Linked DNA regions of Homo sapiens: region 1 is linked to region 2. The links are contacts of gene promoters, found by promoter capture Hi-C in blood cells and fetal thymus (Javierre and others, 2016). All regions are on one chromosome and are shown on one strand. The core of a region is centred on a gene start or on the middle of the fragment in contact, and the rest is flanking DNA. Distances in the headings are between cores, read along the strand shown.

The links. Contacts are between HindIII fragments. The CHiCAGO score rates a contact against its expected background, and 5 or more counts as called.
Region 1: a fragment that was not itself captured here is called in contact with the fragment with the promoter of ATP6V0E1 in region 2 in 1 of 17 cell types (neutrophils); the score reaches 8.6 in neutrophils.

Annotation. Positions count from the first base shown.
Region 1 is chr5:172,714,483-172,719,223 of GRCh38, reverse strand. No RefSeq gene overlaps it. Among named protein-coding and RNA genes, the nearest start is that of DUSP1, 54 kb to the left of the region's middle. RefSeq lists an enhancer at 4,007-4,612. The HindIII fragment of the contact is 5,498 bases long and covers 1-4,091 here.
Region 2 is chr5:172,981,697-172,987,102 of GRCh38, reverse strand. ATP6V0E1 (ATPase H+ transporting V0 subunit e1) reads right to left here and starts at 3,332. Exons shown (of 4, transcript NM_003945.4): 1 at 3,139-3,332. The coding sequence starts at 3,242. RefSeq lists a silencer at 3,278-3,457 and an enhancer at 3,223-3,517. The HindIII fragment of the contact is 8,334 bases long and covers 1-5,064 here.

The DNA of each region.
Region 1 (4,741 bases), core at 93-2,592, 270 kb after region 2:
TTACCTGGGTCACTGCTGCCATCTTTTATTCTGACCTCCTTCCTGTGGGTCAAAAAGCAAACACAGGCTTAGGTCAAGTAGTCTTTCAAACATCCATCCATCCATCCATCCATCCATCCATCCATCCATCCATCCACCCTGTCCAACCATCCATCCATGCATCCATCCTGTCCATCCACCCACCCATGCATCCATGCATCTATTCATCTATCCATCCATCCATCCTATCCAATCCATCCATCCTATCCATCCATCCATCCAATCCATCCATCCATCCATCCTGTCCATCCATCCATCCCTCGTGTCCATCCATCCATTCATCCATCCATGCATCCATCCATCTATTCATCCATTCATCCATCCTATCCATCCATCCAATCCATCCATACATCCATCCATCCATCCATACATACATACATCCATGCATCCATCCATCTGTTCATCCATCCATCCAATCCATCCATCCATCCATCCATCCATCTACCCATCCATCCATCCATCCATACATCCATGCATCCATCCATCTATTCATACATCCATCCTGTCCATCCATCCATCCATCCCATCCATCCATCCATCCATCCATCCACTAATCTTCCTTCCACCCATTCGTCATTCATCCATTTGTCCACCATCATCATCCATCCATTCGACTTCTATCCATCCACCCATCCATTCATCTATCTGTCTTTCCATCCATCCATCCATCCACCTATCTTCACTGAGCCCCTTCTCCATGCACACACTGTGCTCAGCTGTGAGGAGAGGGGGATGAAGATGGGTCTGTGCCTGCTCTCATGAGTGGTGTGCTTGTTCAGAATGGTGTAAGCACATCTGTGTGGTGAAGGGTAGGGTGAAAGGTTAGGGGGGTTGAGGCAGGAGGCTGGGGAGACCCACTGGGGTCAGGGTATAGTCTGGTGGGGGAGATGAATGTACACAAGTAGGTCTGATAACTTTAGATGGTCAGAGTGTCATGAAAGGAGGAAACAGGATCCAGCCATCCAGGGAGAGATGGGGATTCGTGGGAGTGCTGGAGGTGGAATAGAGCAGGATCCCCGAGGGATGTGGAGTGGATTTGCTGACAGGTGGGCTCAGGGGCAAACTGAAGCCAGATTATTTGTGGGGCCCAAGGAAAATGGCGTTCCAGAGGGCTCTGAGGCTTCTGGGCACAGGGGGCCACCTGCCCAAATGGGGAAGACCTGGGTTCAGGTCTCAGGGTTGCCAATCCCCGACTGTGACCTTGGGCAGGTCACCTCCCCTCTTGGATGCCAGTTGCATGACCTCTAGAATCCTCCTGATGGTGACAATGTACCTAAAATAGCATAAAGCAGCCCAGCCCACCGAGGACGTGCCAAATGCATGCCCACTCTCACTGAGCATTCTCTCTTCCTTCTTCCACCAGTGGCCCTGGGAACTCCCAGGGCCCCTGAAAACACTGTTGGCTGCGGTCCCTTCTGCAGTTTCCCCACCTATAAAATGGGACAATGCCAGTGCCTGGCACCTAGTAAGTGCTCAGTAAGCATTAGTGGTGGCTGTGGTTGCTGCAGCAGTTGACCGGCCCTTTAGTCTGTACCTCGCAGACCCGCTTCTGATTCTGGCCACATCTGCCCCCACCCGACTGCTTCCTCTTGTCTCTTCTCCCTGATATGCTGGGCTGCGTGTCCGAGGGTCCTTGCTCCGGCGGCCCCCTCCACACCGGCCCTTCCCTCTGACCACCTCCCGCCTTCTCCTCACCCCAGCTCCTCCGTCCCTCTATCCCACCACCCTGTTGTATTTTCTCCCGATGCTTGCCAGGATCTGAAAGCATCTTTTTTTTTCTTCTTTCTCTTGTTTATTTCTGTGTCCTCACGTAGTTTGGAGGTTCCAGAGGGCACAGCCTTTCAAAGGTCTTCTTCCCTGGGCATCTCCAGTTCATCGTACAGAGCCCAGCACACAGTAGGTGCACAGTGCCTATTTGTAAGAAGGAAGGAAGGAAGAAACGAAGGGAGGGAGGAGGCAGGAGAGACAAAGGGAGGGAGAGAAAGGCAGTGGAGGCCTGTTGGGGAGGGCGGGGTGGCTGGTGGGGAGGAGCCCCAGGTCCGCAGCCCCAGTGGTGGACCTGAGAACATTGTTGGGGTGTTCAGGAAGCATCTGCCCAGGGAATTAACAGAGCTGGAAACCATCCGGGCGTCTAAGTTTGGCTTCTTCCCGATGATGTGAAGACCATGCTTAGCGCTCTCTTGGGAGCCGACAAGGGGGTCTCTAGCGCCACCTTCCGGGCATCCGGGAAATGTCCGTACAGTCCCACCAAGGCCCACCTGCCGCCTCGACATTCATAAATAAACGCCAACAATGACAGCGACAGCAACAACAGCTCCGCTTTATTAAATGGTTACTCTGCGTCAGACAGCGTACCAGGTACTTGAAAGATATGATGTCCTAACCTCCAGACCCCTTGAAATGCGGCTGGTTATTACCCTCATTTATTTACGCAGACAGATGAGGAAACTGAGACTCAGAGAAAAAGAACCGCTCAGCCCAGGTCGCATAACCAGTGAGTGGCAGGTCTGGATTCTAACTCAGGTCTCTCTGGCCCCAAAGTGCAGAGCCCCAAAGGGCTGAGCCGTGCTCTGGAGAAAGGCAGAGAGGGAAAGGGAGGGTGGGCAGGGCTGGGGCTGAGGGCACAGCAGGCTCCCAGGAAGGCCCCTAGCGGTCACTCCCTTGCAGGGACTATGCTGTCCCAAGGCCTTGCTCTGAGCCCTCCTCAGGACCCCTCCCAGCCTCCCTGAGCATGAGCTCCTTCATCCAATGTCACAGTTGGGGGAACTGAGGCGCACAGGGTGGAGACCCTGGAGAGGTCACCTCCCCTCTTGGATGTCAGTTTCATTACCTCTAGAATCTTCCTGATGGTGATAATATACCTAAAATCTCATCGAGCAGCCCAGCCCACCTAGGACGTGCCAAATAAATGCCCACTCTCGCCATGCATTCTCTCCTGTGTCTCACCTTCTGCCTTCCTGGCAGTGCTGGGCAGAGGAGAGCGTGACTCCAGGCCCTGGCCTGGTGCTCTGGGTGATGCAGGGGGTCGACTGGAGTAGGGAAGGCAGACATTCGCACAGGTCTCCATGGCCTATGTCAACCCTCTCAAGTTTGGGGGCCTGTGGGTGAGGTTGGCAGAGCGGGCTGGGAGGCCCTCTGTGGGACAGGTCCTGTGGTGTGTGCTTGCCAGGCAGAGGGCCCTGTCTGCCACTGTTCGGAAGTCTGGTTACTGGAGAACGTGTTGCTGAAGTCAGAAAGCCCAGCGGTCTTTCCCCACCCCACCACTTTCTAGCGCAGTGATCCAGAGCCTCTGTCAAGGATCTTGAACTGCCTTCACCTCACTGAGCCTCAGGTTATCCCTCTGTAAAATGGGAGTCGCAGTCCTGATCTTTTCAGGCTCACCTGAGAGAGCAAACACATACACAAAGTCCTGAGCCCACTCTAACTGCTTGATAAATAAGATTTTGAAGGACCCCACAGACACATACCGGCCATGCCTCAACGCCTCTTCGATGCTGAGAAGCAGATGTTGTGTGATGCCGCTGTAGAATTGGGGAAACTGAGTCACCAGCCAGGAAGTGCCTGGGCTCAGGCTTCAGCCTGAGTCACAGCCCTAGTGCTGGGAAATCTCCTAGCAGCCACCTCTGGACATGCTTTGTGCCTCTGTCTACGAGCATCCTCTCCTCCCGGCCCCTCTCACTCCCTGGCCCACCAGCCAGGGGGATGCTGGCCAGAGCCCACCACAGCCTGGGCAGGCTTCATCCCTAGAATGAAGCACAAAGTAGGAGCTTACTACGCATCTGATGAGTGGGTGATGCTCTGAGATACACATTTTTAATCCTGCTTTACAGGTGGGGGATTTGGAGGGGCGTGGTGATTTGCCCAAGGCCAAACAGCTATGCTGGGGAAGGACCCTGAGCTTGGTGCCCATGGTGGCCACCAGAGAAAGCTCTGGGTGTCTGAACTCCCTCTGGGCCGGCTGTCCAGGGTCACTCTCCCAGATCAGACCTGGGATCAAAGGTGGCTCAGCAGGAAGCCCTTCCCATCCCACTTCCCCAGAACTAGGACAAGCTTTGACGTCAACACGTCCACATTCCTGCCCTGCAGCCCTGGGGCTGGGGCACTGAATTTCCTCCCTCCAGCGCTGGCATCACAAACAGGAAGCTGGGTCATGTGTGCAGGGCCAGGCCAAAGGCCTCGGGAGAAGGAGGAGGGGGCTAGTGTCCAATCCGGGCGTCAGTTCCCTTCCTGGGGCACCCAGGAGTGGGGATTGGAGGGAGTCCTGTAACACTGTGCCCACGGAGCCATGCTGTTCCTAAAGCTGCCTATAGAGGGCCTTCACAGACTGCTCTCCTCAGCTGGCTCCCACCAACTGGGGCCAATCTCACCGATTGACAGTAACAGCTATCAGGGATGGGGCCCTTCCGCCATGGACTTTACATGAGGTCTCTCATCTGATGCTCGTGAACACTACTCCCCTTATCTTCCTTTGACAGATGAGGCCACTGAGGCATTGGCAGGTTATGTCTGTTGTACAAAGTCCTGCAGCCGTGGGGATGGGGCAGGGTAGGAATTTGGACCCAGGCGGTCTGGCCCAGAGCTGGTGCCAGGAGCCCACCAGGGACAGCCTTCTCATCAGCTCAGACCCTCAGGTGCAATGTTGGAACATGCAAATCTGATTATCTTGCCTGCCTGGGATAATGCCTTTGCCCCAGGGACAAAA
Region 2 (5,406 bases), core at 2,083-4,582:
TAAAAAATGTATCTTCCAGCCGGGCGTGGTGGCTCATGCCTGTAATTCTAGCACTTTGGGAGGCTGAGATGGGCGGATCATGAGGTCAAGAGATCGAGACCATCCTGGCCAACATGGTGAAATCCCGTCTCTACTAAAAATACAAAAATTAGCTGGGCATGGTGGTGCGCGCCTGTAACCCCAGCTACTCGGGAGGCTGAGGCAGGAGAATTGCTTGAACCCAGGAGGCGGAGGGTGCAGTGAGCCAGTATCACGCCACTGCACTCCAGCCTGGCGACAGAGTGAGACTCTGTCTCAAAAACAAACAAACAAACAAACAAACAAAAACAACAAAAAACCAACCTTATCTTCCCCATCCATCTCCTTGGCCTGCTTCTTGGGCTGTTTCAGGGGCTTCTTCCTGCCATCTGTGAAAATGGACATGGTGCCTGCAGCCTCTTCCCCAGACTCTGACACTGGACTTGTTTCATTTTTGAAGAGACAGGGTCTCACTGTTGCCCAGGCTGGAGTACAGTGGTGTGATCATAGCTTACTGCATCCTGGAACTCCTGGTCTCAAACACTCCCATCCCCCTCACTCAGCCTCCCCAGTAGCTAGGACCACAGGTGTGCACCACCATACCCAACTAATTAAAAAAAATTTTTTTCAGAGATAAGGTCTCGCTGTGTTGCCCAGGCTGGTCTCAAGCAATCCTCTTGTCCGGCTTCCCAAAGTGCTGCATATTATGGGTGTGAGCCACCGTGCCCAGCCTTGCTTGTGTTTTAAGCCAAGTGTTAGTACAAGAGTCAAAAAGTTAAAAATAATTCAAAAGTTTAAGTAAAAAAGTTACAGGAAGCTAAGGTTAATTTATTTTTGAAGAAAGAAAAATATTTTTTCAGAAATTTCATGTAGCCTAAGTATACAGTGTTTCTAAAGTCCACCATGGTATACAGCAATGTCCTGGTTCTTCACATTCACTCACCAGTCACTGACTCACTCACAGCAATTTCCAGTCCTGCAAGCTCCATTCATGGTAAGTGCCCTACACAGGTGGACCATTTTAAATCTTTGATATGTATTTTTACTGTACCTTTTCTATGTTTAGATACACAAATACCATTGTGTTACATTTGTCTATACAGTATTTAAGGACAGTAACATGCTGTACAGGTGTGTAGCCTACCTAGAGGCAACAGGTTCTACCAAATAGCCTAGGTGTGTAGTAGGCTGTACCATCTGTTTAAGTAAACTCTTTGTTCACACAAAAGCCCAACTAACACATTTCTCAAACATAGTCCTTTTGTTAAGTGACACATGTCTATATATCACTAGCTGGTCAAATACCTGAATCATGACACTCTCTAGGGCTAAGTGGAAACAGGATGGGTTTCATTACCCTGGATAATGGCAATGACATCCCAAGGAAGGGGAGAGAATGGTCTTTAAGAAAGGAATTGTCAGTGCTATTAGTACATTAATAAATGCTTCTTTGAGTACAAAGGCCATAAAGGCAGACAGTAGGGTAATGAAACAGTTGAAGATATAAACACAACAAAGAAGCACTTTGTTGTTCGCTAACTCCAGTAGGAAAAACAAGTCTAATTAACTTTGGTAAATACAATTGCTTTAATAATGCCAGAATTCTGACTCTGTCCATCAACCTCTATAGGTAGGAGAGATGACCCCATATAACTGGTGTTACCAGGGAGGAGGAACTTGATACTTAAAAATGATAAAAATTCATCTACCATGTATCTTTTAAAAAAAAATAATTTTAGACTAATAAAGCAAATGTATCCCAGGGAGCAAAAGGGGTTCAGGTCACAAAATATTAGGGAAGTAGTAAAAATCTTTTTCTTTCTTTTTTTTTTTTTTTTTTGAGACGGAGTCTCGCTCTGTCGCCCAGGCTGGAGTGCAGTGGCGCGATCTCGGCTCACTGCAAGCTCTGCCTCCTGGGTTCACGCCATTCTCCTGCCTCAGCCTCCCGAGTAGCTGGGATTACAGGCGCCCGCCACCACGCCCGGCTAATTTTTTGTGTTTTTAGTAGAGACGGGTTTCACCGTGTTAGCCAGGATGGTCTCGATCTCCTGACCTCGTGATCCGCCCGCCTTGGCCTCCCAAAGTGCTGGGATTACAGGCGTGAGCCACGGCACCTGGCCAAAAATCTTTTTCTTTTAATAAAGACAATAGAACTATTCACTCAACAGGTATTTATTGGGTGCCTCCTGTGCATACAAGGTACTATGAAAACCAGGCACTATGAAGCCACCAATTAGGTTCAAGAATAAAGCAAGAGATGGTGTTTCTGACAAACTGACTTCAGTCGAAGTTTCACCTCTCATCATCTTGAACTGAGAAAAAAATGACTGAGAAGCAAAAGAGGAACCAGGAAGAGGGTGTTCCAAGGCTCCTTTGAAGATTAAGCCTCTATTTTATACTACAGTTAAAAAGTTTAATTCCAAAAGAGACAAAGCTCTAACCAACAAAGAAGTCTGGAAAAACAAAATCTTTCTTAGCCAATCATTCTAAGCACTTCTTACACTCACATACAAGAGCCGGAGCGCCCTCCAAAAGGCATGACGCAGGGGTTTCTCAACAATACCTCCTGCTCTTTGGTAATTAATCTCGCTTTAGATCAGGCCCCAACCGCCTCCTGGCGCCCACTAGATGCAAGGCCTGGGCTCAATGTTGTCGAAGGAGCTTGTTCTGTACGCAACCGCGACAGCATGGGAGGCAGAGAAGCCAATTTCTGTTTTATTTATTTGATCCTTAAGTTCAGGCAAACGAGGCCTCATGTGGGTGGAAGGCAGGGCTAAAGGGGGACAGTCGACTAGGGACAAACCCCAGTTTCTCCCAGATTCGGCCTGCTCATTTCCGACTGCACCTCCCCACACAGGACTATGATGAGAAAAAATTCCCCTGAAACTCGTTTCCAAGGGGGGTCCACCAAAGGTCACCCTCCACTCGCTCAGGCCGGAGGACACTGAAGCTGCTGCGAAAAGGAACACAAGGAGTTCCGCCGGGTCGGGGGCCTGACTCTGCAGCGCGGGGGGCGCCCATGCAACGTTCTCTGACCCGTGTGGGGGTCGTGCCTTTCCCCGCCCCGGCCTGCTAGCTCCTCACCGCCCGTTCCTCCCAAGGCGGGCCTCACGCACTTACCCCCGGTTAGGACCCTTAGGGATGAACCAAGGCACCAAGAAGCCGACGAAGCCCCAGAACACGCTCATCACAATGAGAGGCACAGTGAGGCCGTGATACGCCATGGTCGCCGCCTGAGCGCCAACCCCTACCCCGTCGCCTCACTCGGATCCCACCAGGAAGTGTCAATAGCTGACCGCGTGACCAGCGTGTGCAAGCCCCGCCTCCCGCGCCCCCACGTGACCCGCGCGCCGGCCTCCGCCCCTCGGGGAGCCCAGAGGCAGAGCCCCGCCTTCGCCTGGCTGTCTCCTGGCTGCAGCTCCTTGGAGGCATGTCGCTCACCCCAGAGCTAGGGATTCGGTCACCCGGGGCTCAGCAAAGTGTTCTGATGAGAACTTGGCCCTTTTAGACAAAGAGTGTAGTTATCTACAGCCTCATCTACTTATGCAACAGACATAGAGAACTTAACAATAGTTGTCCCTTACTATTCTGAATTCCCGTGTGCCTGGCACTGGGCCATGATCTTTAAGTTCATGAGCCCCAGGCCGGGTGCGGTGGCTCACGCCTGTAATCCCAGCACTTTGGCAGGCTGAGGCAGGCGGATCACTTGAGGTCAGGAGTTCGAGACCAGCCTGGCCAACATGGTGTAACCCTGTCTCTACTAAAAATACAAAAATTAGCTGGGTGTGGTGGTGCGCGCCTGTGGTCCCAGCTACTCAGGAGGCTGAGGCAGGAGAATCAATTGAACTCGGGAGGTGGAGGTTGCAGTGAGCCGAGATTGCGCCACTGCACTCCAGCCTGGGCAACAGAACAACACTCTGTCTCAAAAGAAAAAAAAAAAAGTGCATGAGCCCGTGTTGAACTCCTCACTTCAGCCTATGAGGTAATTGTAATTATTATCCCCACTTTGCAGTTGAAGAAACTGAGGCCCAGGGAAGAGGATAAGGATCTTGCCCAAAGTCACATAGTAAGTGGCAGGGCCAGGATTCAACCCCTGATTATCTGATTTTCAAGGCCAGAGCTCTTAACTAGCGCACCACTATTTATCTTGTGTGCTGTGCCAGGCTCTGGAGTTACAGAAGTCAATCAGGCACCCCTGAGGGAGTTCACATTCTGGGGAGCAGATGACCTTGCAAACAGGCGACTCAATGCAGTGTGAAAGTAAGTGGACGACCCTGCAAGGCTTTCTACCCAACTCGTCCTTGCTGAGCCTTGAAAGACAAGTAGAAATTAGCCAGAATGGTAAGAAGAAAAACAGGCCAGGCATGGTGGCTCACACCTGTAATCCCAGCACTTTGGGAGGCCGAGGCGGGCAGATCACCTGAGGTCAGTAGTTCAAGACTAGCCTGGGCAACATGGTGAAATCCCATCTCTACTAAAAATACAAAAATTGGCCAGGTATGCACCTGTAGTCCCAGCCACTCAGGAGGCTGAGGAACAAGAACCGCTTGAATCCCTGGGAGGCAGAGGTTATAATGAGCTGAGATCGCACCACTGCACTCCAGCCTTGGCGACAGAGTGAAACTCTGCCTCAAAAAAAAAAAAAAAAAGAAAGAAAGAAAAAGAAAGGTAAAACAGTTTTGTTTGTTTGTTTGTTTTTTGAGACAGGGCCTTGCTCTGTCACCCAGGCTGGAGTGCAGTGGTGCTCCATAGCTCACTGCTGCCTGGAACTCCCGGGCTCAAGCCATCCTTCTGCCTCAGCCTCCTGAGGAGCTGGGACTACAGGTGTGCACCACCACACCAGCTAATTTTTAAAATGTTTTGTAGAGACAGAGCCTCGCTATGTTGCCCCGGTGGGTCTTAAACTCCTGGCCTGAAGGGATCCTCCACCTCAGCCTCCCAAAGTGCCGGGATTACTGGCATAAGCCACCGTGCTGAGCTGATAAACAGGGCTTAGAACGCTTGCTGAGAATTTTCACATATGTTAGTTATAGTATGCGCCAAGCTTGGAATAGACAAGGAAGCCAGTTCTCAGAGAGGTTGAGGAGCTTGATGATAAAGCTTACAGGTGAAAGCAAGATAGAAAGCAGGTCTTTAAATGCAATGTGCTTTACCAGGGACCATGGTTTCCTTGCAGTAGCCACATTGCATTAACTCCTGATTTCTTTCATCAAGTAGAATGGATTCCTGTATTAAACGGGAAACTGGACCAATAATCTTCAACATCTGTACCAACTTTTCGGACATGATTCTAAGCCTTTAACCTGATCAGCAATGTAGAAAACTAGTTTGTCTCCTTTGTGCTCATAATGCTTCCCCAAAACTTAGCCCCAGCAGAAATCCTATGGT